Regions from separate parts of the Homo sapiens genome. Here all the other regions are linked to region 1. Evidence: promoter capture Hi-C in 16 types of primary human blood cells and fetal thymus (Javierre and others, 2016). All regions are on one chromosome and are shown on one strand. The core of a region is centred on a gene start or on the middle of the fragment in contact, and the rest is flanking DNA. Distances in the headings are between cores, read along the strand shown. Region 1 holds the start of HSD17B10 (hydroxysteroid 17-beta dehydrogenase 10). Region 2 holds the start of RP2 (RP2 activator of ARL3 GTPase). Region 3 has its middle 7.1 kb from the start of NDUFB11. Region 4 overlaps UBA1 (ubiquitin like modifier activating enzyme 1). Region 5 holds the start of TIMP1 (TIMP metallopeptidase inhibitor 1). Region 6 overlaps ELK1 (ETS transcription factor ELK1).

Evidence for each region. The method cuts DNA at HindIII sites, captures the fragments that hold promoters and counts their contacts. A CHiCAGO score of 5 or more calls a contact.
Region 2: the fragment with the promoter of RP2 here is called in contact with the fragment with the promoter of HSD17B10 in region 1 in 1 of 17 cell types (neutrophils); the score reaches 5.9 in neutrophils.
Region 3: a contact is called between a fragment that was not itself captured here and the fragment with the promoter of HSD17B10 in region 1, in 1 of 17 cell types (neutrophils). The highest score is 8.7, in neutrophils.
Region 4: a fragment that was not itself captured here is called in contact with the fragment with the promoter of HSD17B10 in region 1 in 1 of 17 cell types (neutrophils); the score reaches 6.2 in neutrophils.
Region 5: a contact is called between the fragment with the promoter of TIMP1 here and the fragment with the promoter of HSD17B10 in region 1, in 1 of 17 cell types (neutrophils). The highest score is 5.7, in neutrophils.
Region 6: a contact is called between a fragment that was not itself captured here and the fragment with the promoter of HSD17B10 in region 1, in 1 of 17 cell types (neutrophils). The highest score is 5.8, in neutrophils.

Annotation. Positions count from the first base shown.
Region 1 is chrX:53,433,108-53,435,649 of GRCh38, forward strand. It overlaps HSD17B10 (hydroxysteroid 17-beta dehydrogenase 10), which reads right to left and starts at 1,263. Exons shown (of 6, transcript NM_004493.3): 1 at 1,212-1,263; 2 at 615-779. The coding sequence starts at 1,238. The HindIII fragment of the contact is 11,572 bases long and covers 1-2,542 here.
Region 2 is chrX:46,835,769-46,838,310 of GRCh38, forward strand. It overlaps RP2 (RP2 activator of ARL3 GTPase), which reads left to right and starts at 1,275. Exons shown (of 5, transcript NM_006915.3): 1 at 1,275-1,434. The coding sequence starts at 1,333. RefSeq lists a silencer at 877-956 and an enhancer at 1,267-1,406. The HindIII fragment of the contact is 11,862 bases long and covers 1-2,505 here.
Region 3 is chrX:47,136,366-47,138,907 of GRCh38, forward strand. No RefSeq gene overlaps it. Among named protein-coding and RNA genes, the nearest start is that of NDUFB11, 7.1 kb to the right of the region's middle. The HindIII fragment of the contact is 4,112 bases long and covers 1-2,542 here.
Region 4 is chrX:47,206,433-47,208,974 of GRCh38, forward strand. UBA1 (ubiquitin like modifier activating enzyme 1) reads left to right here. Exons shown (of 26, transcript NM_003334.4): 16 at 1-12. All of the region lies in intron 2 of LOC105373194 (a long non-coding RNA gene), which reads right to left. Among named protein-coding and RNA genes, the nearest start is that of INE1, 2.9 kb to the left of the region's middle. The HindIII fragment of the contact is 404 bases long and covers 1,073-1,476 here.
Region 5 is chrX:47,581,156-47,583,697 of GRCh38, forward strand. It overlaps TIMP1 (TIMP metallopeptidase inhibitor 1), which reads left to right and starts at 1,281. Exons shown (of 6, transcript NM_003254.3): 1 at 1,281-1,319; 2 at 2,253-2,381. The coding sequence starts at 2,261. The region is part of intron 5 of SYN1 (synapsin I); the gene reads right to left. RefSeq lists silencers at 929-1,078, 1,139-1,238. The HindIII fragment of the contact is 9,422 bases long and covers 1-2,113 here.
Region 6 is chrX:47,644,924-47,647,465 of GRCh38, forward strand. All of the region lies in intron 2 of ELK1 (ETS transcription factor ELK1), which reads right to left. Among named protein-coding and RNA genes, the nearest start is that of ELK1, 4.4 kb to the right of the region's middle. The HindIII fragment of the contact is 5,498 bases long and covers 1-2,542 here.

The DNA of each region.
Region 1 (2,542 bases), core at 13-2,512:
GTGAAACCCCATCTCTTCTAAAAATACAAAAAAAAAAATTAGCTGGGCGTGGTGGCAGGTGCCTGTAATCCCAGCTACTTGGGAGGTTGAGGCAGGAAAATCGCTTGAACCCAGAAGATGGAGGTTGCAAGGAGCTGAGATTGTGCCACTGCACTCCAGCCTGGGCAACAGAGCGAGACTCCATCTCAAAAATAAAAATAAAAAATAACCCTCTTGTGAGAATTATTGATAGGAAGATAAACTAGCTTTTTTGTATCCTTACCTGCTAAGATGATTTCATCAAGTTTCACTTTCTGTAGTTTGTTTCATGAAAACAAGTTTTTTGACTTTGTAAATATAAAATTACAAGGCACAAAATGCATTTTCAAACCATACATAACTCCTCCAGGAGATTGTTACGTCCAATCCCCATCCTCATTGTTGTGAATCCCAGCTTTAGAGAATCCTTATCACAGGTGGTCCCACAGTGCTTGAAGGCTCAGGCCAAAAGAGACAAGGAGATGGGTCTACCGCCCCCATAGAGGAGACCCTTATGGGAGGGACCCCCACAGGTTCCCAGGCCGGTGTTGGTGACCTCATGCACACCCTGGGAGAGGAGAGGTGACCCCACTTACGTCGGCTGGGGCGAAAACGCAGTTGTTTCCTAACTTCTTGGCTTGGGCCTCCCCACCCGAGTTGGGCAGGTCCAGAAGCACAGCAGAGGCTCCCTGCCCCACAAGTCGCTCCGCCGTGGCCAGGCCCAGGCCCGAGGCTCCTCCGGTTATTACCGCCACCAGGCCCTGTCAAAAGGGACATGGTCAGGGTCAGCTGTTACATTGCCCAGACCATCCCCACGCTGTCGCCTGCCTGTTCTCCAGGCTTCTGAGGAGAAGGGGGGAGGGGAGAGGTCGTGGTCACCCCTGCGGGTAAACTAGGTGTGCTGCTTCTCCTCAGCGTTGGGACCTCGGGGGCAGAAGGGATCTCATCCCCAGACAGCCCGTCCCGTGACGATAGATAGATAGATGATTGATAGATAGATAGATAGACAGACAGACAGACAGACAGATGCGCCGCGGAGTGCTGACTTTCACCTCTTGAGCCCAACGGCCACAATACCAGGCCTACATAAGCATGACCCTTTCCCTCGAAACCGATCTCTTTCTCCTAGTTCCACGGCCGCGCTGTCCCGGCCCGTAAAGGAAGGCAAGCAACAGAGGCAAAGAACCTTCTACCTTCACGCTCCGACACGCTGCTGCCATCTTGTCGCCGGCCACTCCACGGGATGGGGATGGGGGCGCGGGCGCTCGTTGATTGGCCGAGGCGAAGCGGCGGAAGGGGCGGATGCGACGGGCCGGGGCGTCTGCCGCTGCCGCATGAGACGTGGGGGCGTGGCCTGGTACGCTAGTCCTTTGGCCAGAGGGCGGATTCCGCCTGCTAAGGTATCCCCAGAGTTATTTCAACTGGGGAAAGAGACCAATAGCAGAAGTACAATACCACAACACCCCTCGCCCTACTCTCTAGCTGGCCTTTTGGCAAGTGGCCTGCTCCGCGTGGGGGAAGAGGGGTGGATATTGAGAACGGATGCCTTTCTCCTCTGAAAAAGTCTTAATTCAAGTATGAATGTATTTGAGACTCCTATATGCTAGACGGTGTGCGGGGCACCTGGGATACCCAGCGGAATAATAAAAGATTCATGCCTTCCAGGAGGGCACAGTCCAGGTGGAGAAAGAGAATTACAGTACAGACACAGACGAATGGACGGAACCAGATTCTGGGACACTCAGACAAGGAGATCCAAAGATGAGGAGTCTGAGTTAGAGAGAGAGAGAGCCATGTAAAGAGAAATATGTTGAGGCCGAGATAGGAAGAGAGATGCCAGGTAGGATCACAGAGAGATGAATGTGGAAAGCCGCTAAGAGAGATGCTTGGAGACAGACATTCTAGGACAGCTGCTGAGAAGCACAAACCTAAAGAGGCAAAAACATCTTTCATCAGTTCAGGCTTTGCTACTCTCCTCTATCTTTGTCTAATTTAAGTCCAAAAGCCCAGATCACACACTGCAGATTGGACTTCAACCAGAGACTATTATTTAAGACCCAGGTCTTTGTCATCCTAGAACATCTTTCAGGCAGCTTCCAGAAGCTATGTCATTAGAGTCTTGAGCCCAGATATCTAATCTGTCTTCCTTCTATACTTTTCCTCAAACCAAGGTCTTCAGGCCATAAATCTTAGCCCACCATTTCAGCCTCAGAACTGCTTTATGTTTTCTCTATCTGAAATATCTCCCCCCACTTGCTTTCTCACCCAGGAAGATTCCCCTCCAGGCCTTCTAGTTGTTGACAGCCACCACACTCATAATCACTACACCGTATTTACCAAAGGATTTAGCACACCGGTCTCACAATTTTCCTATCTACATGAAGTGCTTCCATCAATTTATAGCACTCTTCATCCGGCCCAATATGCTGTAGCCACAGTGGCCTCCTTTGTGTTCATCTTTGCATTAGCTGCTCCCTCTGCTTGGAATGCTCTCCCCTGATCTTTGCATGACTGCTTTTATTTT
Region 2 (2,542 bases), core at 25-2,524, 6.6 Mb before region 1:
TACTCTGGAGGCTGAGGCAGGATAATCACTTGAACCCGGGAGGCGGAGGTTGCAGTGAGCCGAGATGGCACTGCTGCACTCCAGCCTGGGCGACAAGAGCAAAAACTCCATCAAAAAAAAAAAAAAAAAAAAAAGATATACCTTTTTGATCTCAAGAAAGTCACAGTTCAAATAGGGAAACAATACACAATTAACTATTTTACTAAGTACTTGTGCAATTTTAGAGCCATATGTGAAAGTCTTAAGAAAACACAGAAGCAGCCTGGGGTGCGGTGGGTCCTGCCTGTAATCCCAGCACCTTGAGAGGCTGAGGCAGGATGATCGCTTGGGCCCAGGAGTTCAAGACCAGCCTGGGCGACATAGCAAGACCCCATTTCTACAAAAGTAAAAAAAAAAAAAAATAGGTGGGCATGGTGGTGCTTGCTTGTAGTTCCAGCTACTCAGGAAGGAGGCTGAGGCAGGAGGATCGCTTGAGCCCAGGAAGTCAAGGTTGCAAAGTTGCAAGGTTGCAGTGAGTTATGATTGTGCCACTGCAGCCTGAGTGACATAGCGAGACCCTGTGAAAGAAAAAGAAAGAAAGAAAGAAAGAAAGAAAGAAAGAAAGAAAGAAAGAAAGAAAGAAAGAAAGAAAGAGCACAGAAGAGGATTGGGAGGTTATGGGGTACAATTCTTGAGGGGGTGACCCTGGCCAGGCGATGAGAGGGCGGTAGGAAGGGTGATGAGGGGAGAAGAGGATTTAGAAATACAAATTTCAGGGTCTTCTTGTGTCAGCGGGAATTTCTGTCCCTCACAACTTTCATCATAAGATAAATCTAATGTTCAACTAGAGATCTCTCCCGCGCCTTGAACTTGCAAATTTATGAATCAGGGGCAAAAAAAACCCGGATACCGAGCCTGGCCTCCCACCAGCTAGAGAACCCACCAAGTTCCAGGAGGGGCGGGGCCGAGGGCGGTCCGTGCCACAGCTGTGGGCGGGGTTGTCCGTGCTTGCGCCAGAGCCGGCCCGCCCCGCCGCCAGGGGCTGTCGCAGGAGCCAGGCGTGGATTGGTATGTGGGTATGTCGGCCTCTCTTCATAGGCCGCGCAGGATTGCTCGAGAGGCTTTGATTGGCTCAACAGGCGCTGAGCGTTCATTGGCTGCGCTGGGTCGTCAGGGCGACGAAAAAGGGGAAGGGGTGCTGGGCCTGGCGGGCAAACTAAGGCTGCGGACCGTTGGGCGGTTCCGCGGGGCGTTGTCCGGAGAGCTGCGAGGCCGGGGTTCCCAGGGTTCACGCCACACTCTAGGAAGTGCCTGAGCTAGTGAGCTGGCCAACGAGCTCCGCGGGCTGGGACCATGGGCTGCTTCTTCTCCAAGAGACGGAAGGCTGACAAGGAGTCGCGGCCCGAGAACGAGGAGGAGCGGCCAAAGCAGTACAGCTGGGATCAGCGCGAGAAGGTAATGAAAGTCGTGTAGCCGCCGTCTCAGCCTCCCTGAGCCGCTCCGCCAGGTCCCTTACGGCCCGGGACCGCTGAGGGGGCCGACCCAACTGCTGCCGCACTCTCTTGAACGCGGATAGCTGAAGTCGGGGTGCACGACTTTTTTGGGGAGCGGGGACGTGAAGTACAGCGCTAGAGAGGCCGCCCAGAGGGCTGTGGAGCTCCGGAAGGAGCCTTAGGAGTTTGTTGTCGTGGTAGACAGACTCCCCCGGGAGCTTTCTCTGACTCCGAACCCTGCCTTGCTCTGACTTCCTGTTGGAGATGATCGATTCGAGAGAGGGAAAGAGCCGAGAACGCCCTGAATCTCAAATCACCTCGTTTCACCCACCGGCAGCGTCAAGCGGGGTTTTGTCCAGTCGTCGAGTTACGTATATGGGACCGATTCTCATCTCTTCCGGGGCTTAATGTTCTGTGGCTGTTTTCTCTTTTGTCTGCCCTCCCCGGCAAATCTCTTTGGTGCCTCATGATATATTTCACTGCTGAATTTTCTCAATTACCAAGTGGACTGTTTAATGTACAGCTTTACTCCCCCTCCTCTTCCAGTTATCCGAAAGAAATAATGAATATCGCATCAGTCTTGGAATGTGTATTAAGACTGTAAGGTGAAAATAAGCGGCATAAACCAGGCAGTATTTTACTGCTGGTTTAAATGAATGAAAACGCCCTTATTTTTATTTTTGTATATAGCCAGAAACGAAAAACCTTTGAAAACCTCCATTAGTCTTACACAAAACACACTCGGTCATACATTTCATAATAGTTCCTCTTTCTACATAGTTCTCCATTTGTGCTTACTAAACTACTTTGATGGACTTATCAATTATTTCTCCCAAACAAAATGAGAGATTTTTCAAATGGGTATTATGAACAGTTAACTCTTTGCTTAAGGCAACATATCTTTACCCAAGATTACTTTATAATAAATGTATTAACGTTTTGGAATCACAGACCTTTCTGCATGATTTCCAATCCCCAGCAGAATGTATTCAGGTAAGCTCTGGTCTCTAAGAGTCAGAGTTAGGAAATTGAAAGCTTTTTGCAGCTTTTCTCAGCCCCGTCTTTCTGCC
Region 3 (2,542 bases), core at 15-2,514, 6.3 Mb before region 1:
CCAGCTACTCTGTCAGCTGAGGCACAAGAATCGCTTGAACTCGGGAGGTGGAGGTTGCAGTGAGCCAAGATCTTGCCACTGTACTCCAGCCAGGGCGACAGAGCGATACTCCATCTCAAAAAAAAAAAAAAAAAAAAAGGCCGGGGCGGTGGCTCACACCTGTAATTCCAACACTTTGGGAGGCCGAGGCAGGCAGATCACAAAGTCAAGAGATGGAGACCATCCTGGCCAACATAGTGAAACTGTCTCTACTAAAAATACAAAAATTAGCTGGGTGTAGTGGCACGCACCTGTAGTCCCAGCTACTCGGGAGGCTGAGGCAGGAGAATCACTTGAACCCGGGAGACAGAGATTGCGGTGAGCCGAGATTGTGCCACCACTGCACTCCAGCCTGGTGACAGAGCAAGACTCTGTCTCAAAAAAAAAAAAATTTAAAAAAAAATTGGAATTAGACCAACTCAACTCAGGTGAATTTTTACTGAGCAACTTTGAACCGGAGTGAATTCTCCTGAGCCAATTTAATTCCTTGATCAATGCCATACAGTGGTGCAGTTAACCCAAAACCAATTTTGGCTGTCTCATTTCTCTGAAGTTATTTTCATCGTGATCATTTTCTGGTTAATTTTTGCAACGATGATTCAATCCATACATTGATTCTCTTATCTGTGTCAAATTCAAGCAGTAACAGCTTCCCTCAGATAGCTCCTTGGCCTCAGGCTGCTCCTTGACCATCTCAGGCACATACATTCTTGCTTCTGGAACTTGGTACTTATTGTTCCTTCTGCCAGAAATGCTCTTGCATCTGTGTAGTTCATCTCTGGCTTCCTTCACATTTTTTTCCTTCAAGTAATCACCTTTGCTGACTATCCTATTTAAATTCAGGTTCTCCTCTCCCCCCAACTCCCTGACACCCCCCTTACCAGATTTACTTATTTATTTATTTTTGGGATAGGGTCTTGCTCGGTCACCCAGGCTGGAGTGCAGTGGCCCGATCTCAGCTCACTGCAACCTTTGCCTCCCGTGCTCCAGCAATTCTCCACCTCAGCCTTCCGAGTAGCTGGAATTACAGGCGTGTGACACCATGCCCAGCCCAGTTGCCCAGGCTGGCCTCAGGCTCCTGGCCTCAAGTGATCTGCCCACCTCAGCCTCCCAAAGTGCTGGGATTACAGGCGTGAGCCACCACACCCAGCCTCTGGATTTATTTTTAACTTAATCCATACTTATCACTTCCCTACATACATATAACACACAAATTGTGCTGTTTATTTTCTGTCTCTCCCAGCTGGAATACAGGCTCCATGAGGGCGGGCATTTTTAAATCTTTTGTTCCCTGCTGTATCCCCTTTGCCTGTAACAGTGCCTGGGCAGGAGGATCGCTTCAGTCCAGGGTCCAGGCTGCAGTGAGCCATAGTCATGCCACTGCACTCCAGCCTGACCAACAGAGCAAGACCCTATCTCAAAACAAAAATAAAAACAAAACAACAGGAACAGTGCCTAGGACCCTGTAGGCACTTCAATAAATATTTGTTGAATGAATACCTCCTGTCATTCTGAGCTTTATTTGTGGACAGTTTCCATTGAGTCTAATATTTCAGGATCAAAATTTGCAGGTCCACATTTTGTTGAGAACATCAAAAACTTCCATCAATTTTCCCTCAACACAGTTTCAGGTTCACAGTTTTGGCTGCTGTCAGTTTATTCTGTGGTGCTTATGTTTATTGGTAATAGTCACTGTTAATCTGGTAAGATGTTCTATTTTTATTTTCTGGGTGATGTCCTATTAGATTGAAGGATAAAGGAGGCCAGTATCTATTATGTGGGCAGAACAAAGTTGCGTCCAAAATATGAAAGTTCAAAGGTCCCTGGGGTCGAACAGTAGGGTGAAAACATTGTATTAAGGTCTCTGATCACTCACACCAGCCTCTGCCCTCATCCTGGGAAATTCCTAAGGGCAGGGACCCTGATATCCGCCAGTGCCTGGCACACTGTTGGGGCTTGGCACTCAGTAGGCACTCCCTCCCTCTTCATCCCAATGTGGTCCTTAAAAGGTCAGTCATCCCCAGCCTGGCCAACATGGTGAAACCCTGTCTCTACTAAAAAAAAAATACAAACAAAATTAGCCGGGCGTGGTGGTGGGTGCCTGTAGTTCCAGCTACTCAGGAGGCTGAGGCAGGAGAATCGTTTGAACCTGGGAGAAGGAGGTTGCAGAGAGCCGAGATCATGCCACTGCATTCCAGCCTGGGCAACAGAGTGAGACCCTGTCTCAAGAAAAGAAAAAAAAAAAGGTTAGTCATCCGCCAGAATGGCTGCAGTGAAAAAGATGGGAAATGCCGAATGATGGGGAGTCAACTCTGGGAAAGTGTAGATTGGAAAATTGGCATGATTTACTGAAGCTGATTGGTCACATGTCTACGCAATGACTTAGCAATTCCATTCCTAGGTTATATACCCAAGAAATGAGTACATATGTCTATCAAAAGATGTGTACAAGAATGTTCACAGAATTATTCTTAGCCAGGCACAGTGGCTCATGCTTGTAATC
Region 4 (2,542 bases), core at 25-2,524, 6.2 Mb before region 1:
CACACCCTGCAGGTGATAAGCTGTGGGAGAAGGGAAAGAGGCCAGGCATCTGGCCAGGCTGCTGCCTCTCCGCCCCCAGGCCCTTGCCTTGCCTTCAGATGTTGCATGCCTAAGTGTAAGATGTGCCTTTTCTCCAAACCTCCCTCCCTCACTTCCCACCAGGCAGCCTAGGTTTCTAGAATGACTCATTCTTTTTTCACTTTTATTTTGATTTTTTTTTCAACACATAGACAAATATTAAGAATATTATGATGAATACTCAAATACCATTCCTCACCTAAATTTAACAATTCTTAATGTTTTGCCACATTTTCTTCTTAGATTTATGTAGATTTTTCTTCTTTGTGCTTAAATGTGTCACAGACATCACAGCCCTTTACTCCCTACTATTTCAGTGCCTCTGCCAAGTGAGGATATGTTGCTGTAGAACAGGGTTTCTTAGCTTCAGCACTACTGACATTTGGGGCTGGTTATTTATTTGTCATGGGAGAGGGGATGCCCTGTGCACTGTAGGATGTTTCTCAGCATTCCTGACTTCTGCCCACTAGATGCCAATAGCACTCTCCCTCCATCATGACATCTCAAAATGTCTCCAGACATTGCCAGATGTCCCCAGGGGTGCCACATCACTCCCAGTTGAGAACTACTTCTGTCTAACAGAAACATCATTTTCATGCTCAGCAAAATTAACAATCATTCTTACCATCTCTTCTAGTTATTTATTTGTCTCTAATGGTCCATATTCAGGTTTTCCCCAGCTGTTACTCAAAATGAGTTTAACAGCTGGTTTGTCAGGATGATTCTGTGTGTATGGTGCATTTATCTACAGAACAGTGCATATATTATCTAGCTCGGGGTGTCCAATCATTTGGCTTCCCTGGGCCACATTGGAAGAAGAATTGTCTCGGGCCACACATAAAATATACTAATACTAACGATAGCTGATGAGCTGAAAAAATAAAAGAAAAAAAGATCCGTGCATAAATCTCATAATGTCTTAAGAAAATTTACAAATTTGTGTTGGGCAGCATTCAAAGTCATCCTGGGCTGCATATGGGCCACAGGTTAGACAAGCTTGATCTAGCTGAAGTTTTACAAAGTGAACACACAGGTGACCACCACCTGGGCCAAGAAACAGAACCTAGGGATTACCATTGTGCTGTCAGAATAATTCTTAGTGCAGTGTTTGAGGCCAAACCATTTAGAATAGTAGGAGTATGAGGGTGGGAACAAAATAGGGAAGGGAAAAAAAAAACAGTTCCATCTGTCACTTTCTCCCTTCTGACACTGCAGTTCCAGAGTGGGTATGTTTGTATTTGTGCACCAACCACAGTCTTGCTAGGTCATGTGTAACCTTGAACTTAACCTCTCTGTGCCGCAGATTCCTGTTCTGTAAAATGGGAATGACAGCATCTACCTCACAGGACTATTGTGAACCACTTGGCATTTACTGTGTGCCTGGCACTGTTTTAACCAAGCTTTAAATATATATGTATTTGCTCATTTCTTCCTAGCAACCCCATGAAGGTAGGTATCACTGTTGTAACACCTGTTTTAGAGACAAGGCACAGAGGTAAAGATGTTATCCTGTGTGCCTGAAGTCACAAAACTAGGTAATACGTGGCATAGCTGGAATCTGAACCTGAATTTCTAACATCTGTACACTCCAAACCACCTCGCTAATGACTGCGAACTGTCCTAGGAATTCTCAGAGGCCAGAAGTTCTGTCTTGTTTGCTATTTTATTTTTTGAGACAGGTCTCATTCTGCCATTCAGGCTGAAGTGTATTGGCACAATCATAGCTCACTGCAACCTTCCAACTCCTGGGAAGTGTCTGTACGTGTGTGTGTGTGTGTGTGTAAGTGTCTGTGTGTACGTGTAAGTGTGTGTACGTGTGTGTGTGTGTGTGTGCGCACGCACGCGTGCCCGTTACGTTGACCAGGCTGGTTGTAAACTCCTGGGCTCAAGTGATCCACCTGCCTCAGCCTCCAAAAGTGCTGGGATTACATGTGTAAGCCTCTGTGTCCGGCCTCTGTCTTGTTTTCTGCCAAGTCCTCAGGGCCTGGATAGGGATCATTGTTGGTTTGGTCTGAGTTTTTTGTGTTTTAAAAAACTGTGGTAAGATATACCTAATTGAAGTTTTTATTTTTTATGGAGGCATAACATATCTAGAATAAGGTACACAGATTTTTTTTTTTTTTTTTTTGAGGTGGAGTTTTGCTCATGTTGCCCAGGTTGGAGTGCAGTGGCGCAGTCTCGGCTCACTGCAGCCTCCGCCTCCCAGGTTCAAGCGATTCTCCTGCCTCAGCCTTCCAAAGTGCTGGGAATACAGGCGTGAGCCACCTCGCCTGGCACTCAGATCTTAATACATTTTTAGGCTGGGCATGGCGGCTGACACCTATAATCTCAGCACTCAGGAGGCCAAGGAGTGAGGTTTGTTTGAGCCCAGGAGTTCAAGACCAGCCTAGGCAACATAGCAAGACCCTGTCTCTACAACAAATCTTAAAAATTAGCCGGGTGTGGTGGCATGTGCCTGCTGTCC
Region 5 (2,542 bases), core at 31-2,530, 5.9 Mb before region 1:
TGGGCTATCATCCCTGAGTTAATCAAACTTAATTAGCAAGGGAGTATGGTGAGTGAATGAGATAATTTATACAAACACTTTAGCACATAGTACACAGAAAGTGCTCAATAAGTGGCTGCCATCATCACTACAATTATTATTATTGATCTATCCTCCTCGAATTAAGGATGTTAATCAGAACCCCAGGGAAGGTTCCTGCATTGTCAGAAAGCTGGTGGGCAAGGATTGCCCCACCCCACCCCCCACCAGGGGTACAGGTCCATGGGGAGGGGGCAGGGCAGGATGGGGTGGGGATTAGTTTTCTACTGACCCACTCACTTGCTTCTTTCACCATCATTCATGGCCACCCCCTTCCCAATGCTCATTCATTCACCCGCACCATTCCCTGCTTGCTAGGACGGTGCCACTCCTGAGTTACAACCCTGGTGCCAGGTAGCCTCTGTTTGAATCCCGGCCATGCCCTGTGATCTTAGGAAAATTCTACAGTTCCTCTACGCCCCATATTTCCTCATCCGTAAAACGGGAATAAGAACCGGTACCCATCTCAGAGATTTGTTGTGAGCTTTGAGTGAGATAAACTATGCTGAGTGCCTGGTATACAGTAGGTGCTGTATAAATGCCGGCTATTTGCCTGTGTTATTTGAGACCCTGGCTTTGGCTCCTGGCCACCTGAGTTCCAGTCTCAGTTCTGCCATGTATTGACTCTGTGATCCTGGGTAAGTCACTTAACCACTCCGTGCCTCAGTTTCCCCATTTTGTATTCCTCCCCTTTCACCTGCCTTATCTCCCTCCACTGCTGCTACTTAATTTGTTTCCTCTCTGCCACCCCTCACCAGCATGTCAGACATACAAAACAAGGGATTTTTGTGTGCTTGGCACACAGTAGATGCACAATAAATGTTGAAGGGCTGAACTAATTTGGGTTTGAGTCATAGGGAGCTTGGGGGATGTGGGTGATTGGATAGATTCTGGAGACTTTAGGGGACTGGGCCGGGGGAAATGCGGCCTCTAAGCTCTCCGCTGAGGCGGCTTGGAAGGAATAGTGACTGACGTGGAGGTGGGGGAGGTGGCTGGCCCGGGCGAGGCCCAGGGAGAGGGAGAGGAGGCGGGTGGGAGAGGAGGAGGGTGTATCTCCTTTCGTCGGCCCGCCCCTTGGCTTCTGCACTGATGGTGGGTGGATGAGTAATGCATCCAGGAAGCCTGGAGGCCTGTGGTTTCCGCACCCGCTGCCACCCCCGCCCCTAGCGTGGACATTTATCCTCTAGCGCTCAGGCCCTGCCGCCATCGCCGCAGATCCAGCGCCCAGAGAGACACCAGAGGTAAGCAGGGCCCGGGGTGGCCCAGCAGGGACCGGAGCTGGGCTGCAGCTTGGGTGCTGGCCACCAGGCCCGTGCACTCCCGTGCCAGATGCCTGTCTACTCAGCTTGGCCTGCGGGTACCAGGACCCTGGGCTAGTCTAGGGGGAAGAGGGTCGGAGGCTGGAACTGCTTTCCCAACCCCGAGGCTCCAAACTCCCTAGAACCCCTGACATCCGCCCCCAATTCCCCCAAACCCATGACCCCCTAATATCACAAATGCTTTCCAAATCCCCCCGCAAATTCCTTCATCCCGAAATTTCCCTCATCGCCCCCTAAATACCCACCGCTAACCCCTGCAGCTCCCTAAACTCCCCCAGCTCCCCAATCCCCAGTTCCCCAGCTCCCAAACTTCTTTTGCCCTCAAATTCCTCAAGTATCCCCATTGCCTTAAGCCCCCAAATTCCCCCAACCCCTTCAACCTCCAAACTCCCCCAGCTCCCTAAACCCCCAACCTCCTCCAAATTCCTCAACCTCCCTAAATTCCCCCAGCCTCTTATATCTCTTAATATACACAACCCCTAAACTCTGCCGTCTCCAAACTCCTCCAGCCCCCAATCCCAAATTCCTCACCCCCAAACTCCTCAACCTCCAGAATTCCCCAATCCCCTCATTCCTCAAACTTCCTCAGCCCCCTTCTCCCCCAAGTGCCACAACCCCATAACCCCGCAACTCACTCAGTCCCTCAATAATTTAAACTCTCCCAACTCTCTAAACCCTAAATTCCTCTGCGCTCCCCAATCCCCTTAAAATCCCTAAGCTTACCAACCCCTCAAGCCCAAATCCAGCCCCCTAATCCCCCCCATAGGCTGCCCCGGGGCAAGATGGGGTGGATGACCTGCCCAGGTCAGCAGATCAGCTGGGCCGGGGCCTGCCTGACATCCCCCTTCCCCACAGAACCCACCATGGCCCCCTTTGAGCCCCTGGCTTCTGGCATCCTGTTGTTGCTGTGGCTGATAGCCCCCAGCAGGGCCTGCACCTGTGTCCCACCCCACCCACAGACGGCCTTCTGCAATTCCGACCTCGGTGAGTCCTCACCCCACTCAGCCCACACACTCTGCCTTGGTTTCCCTTTCAGTCCAGTGGGGCTCACCATGGCACTTACCTCTAGAATGATTCCACTCGCCCCTGCACTTCCTCTGCTTTAGCCACACTGGCATCCTCACACTTCCTTGAGTACTCTGTGC
Region 6 (2,542 bases), core at 21-2,520, 5.8 Mb before region 1:
ACAGACTGTTGGGGCTGAAGAAGCCACTGCGGTAGATGATGGTGGTAGCAGTGGGGCTGGCGAGAAGTAGCTGGGGTCTGGAGAAAGCCTGAACACAGAATAGGACTTGCTGACAGATAGCATGCCCGGGGGAGGTGAGAGAAGGGTCCAGGGTGAGTCTAGGTTTGTGGCCTAATCACCCACAAAGACAGCATTGTGGTCAGCTGAGGTGGGAGCCTTGCAGGAGAGTAAGTTTTGAGGGGGGTCACACCAGTTTTGGAGATGGTCAGTTTCAGAGGCCTGTCAGACATCTACGGGTATGCTATGAATACATTTTAATAATTTAAAAATGCAAGCCAGGCATACGATCCTTACCGTGGGCTGCACACTCTTTGAATCATTTAACTCATTGAATCCTCAAACCACCGTTAAAGGGTGGGGATTATCATTTCCCCCATTTTCCACATGAGGCAATGGAGGTACAGAGAAGTAACCTGCCCCAAGTCACACAGCTGGAAGTTGGCAGAGCCGGAATTCAAAACCTAAGTGGTTTGGCTCTAGTGAGCAATCGCCTTACACCACCAGTTCTCCATGAAGAGAAACAGAGAAGGGTAAGATCCTAGAGAGTGACAGGAATGCTGTTTTTACACAGGGTGTACAAGGAGTTCTTCCCCAAGGAAGTGACACCTGGCCTGAAGGAGGGGAGGTAGCAAGCCAGGCTGCCCTCTGTGGGGGAGGGCCTTCAGGCGGAGCGAACGGCGTGTACAAAGGCTCTGAGGCAGCCACCCTGAACTATCTACCGTTCCCGAGACAGTTCCAACCTCTGAGGGTAAGCACGGGCTGCTCTCCCCGCAGGGAGAGCTCTTCCCTCACTTCATGGACTCAATTACACAATCATCGCATTCCAGGAAGAATTCATTCTTCCTCTGCGTGATCAAAGGTGCCAAATAACCTGCCTGCCCTTGCAAATCTGTTCTTCTTTCTGAGTCTTCAGCCTTATGTTCCTCTGCCCCTGTTCTGGCTATTCTGGCTCAAGGTTACCCTGAGCAAGTTACTCAGCCTCTCTTTGCTTGTTTCCTCATCTGTAAAATGGGGATATTTTACTCTCAAAGTCAAATATTCTCAAAAGTACACCTACCCTCCAAGGCTTCTGTGAGGATTAACTGTGTCAATTCTGTAAAATACTTCTGTAAAAGACTTGAGGGGTTGACTTTTTTTTTTGTTTTTACAAGTAGCATTGTTAGGAACTTCTTTTTTATACATGTGCCTTTGTATAGTATATTCCAAGCACCATAGTGTTTAACAATGAATATTTACTGAAATAACACTACCCAGGTGCCAGAAAATCAAATCACTCTTAGAAACATCTTTTATGCCTGTGCCTTTAGGAGAGTGTATTATGCACACCACAGTGGTTATTTTTTGGGTTTTTTTTCGGAGACGGGGATCTCACTATGTTGCACAGGCTGGCCTGGAACTCCTGGGCTCAAGTGATCCTCCCACCTCAGCCTCTGTGCCCAGCTATACACCACAGTTTTGTGAACACATTCTTTCAATGCAACAACACAGTCCTTATTCACATATACAACTAGCACTCTTAGAAACAGCTTTTATACCTGTGCCTCCATAGAGCATATTACATACCTCAGTTTTGTGAACATATCCTTTTGAAAAGGAGGAAAATCCTTATTCATATATAAACTGGCATTCTTAGAAATATCTTTGACACATGTATCTTTTTGTAGTGCATTCCAGGCACCACCGTGTGGTAAACATCCTTTGGGGGTTGGTATTTGAACAGAAAAGTGCCTCTGATGTGTGGCAGATACTCCACAGATATTAGCTATTAGCTAGTGTGTCATCCTTCTCCCCCTGCCCCTGCAATCCTATCCTATGTATCACCTGCACTATCTGGCTCCCATCACCTGTGTGACCTCACCTTCTACCCTTCCCCGCACTCTGCTCCAGCCACACTGGCCGCCTTGATGTTCCTTGAACATGGCAGGCACCATCCCACCTCAGGGCCTCTGAACTGGCACTTCCTTCTGCCTGGTATGCTCTTCCCGTAGACATTAAGGCTCTCTCCGTCTCTACCGTGAGGCCCTAATTCAAGAGTCACCTTCCCTATGCCTAAGATTTCAACCACCCCCAATACTCGATTCCTACCTGCCCTATTTCATTATTTCTTCTCAGCATTTGTCTATTATGCTAATTTTACTTATTTATTTTGTTCACATAGTCTGTCTCCCCAGCTTGGGTTTTTTTTTTTTTTTTTTTGAGACAGAGTCTCGCTCTGTCACCCATGCTGGAGTGCATGGTGCAATCTTGGCTCACTGCAACCTCCGCCTCCTGGGTTCAAGCAATTCTCCTGCCTCAGCCTCCCAAGTAACTGGGATTACAGGCGCACGCCGCCACACCCAGCTAATTTTTTTGTATTTTAGTAGAGATGGGGTTTCACCGTGATGCCCAGGCTGGTCTTGAACTCCTGAGCTCAGGCAATCCACCCACCTCAGCCTCCCAAAGTGCTAGGATTACTGGTGTTAGCCACCGTGCCCAGCCTCCC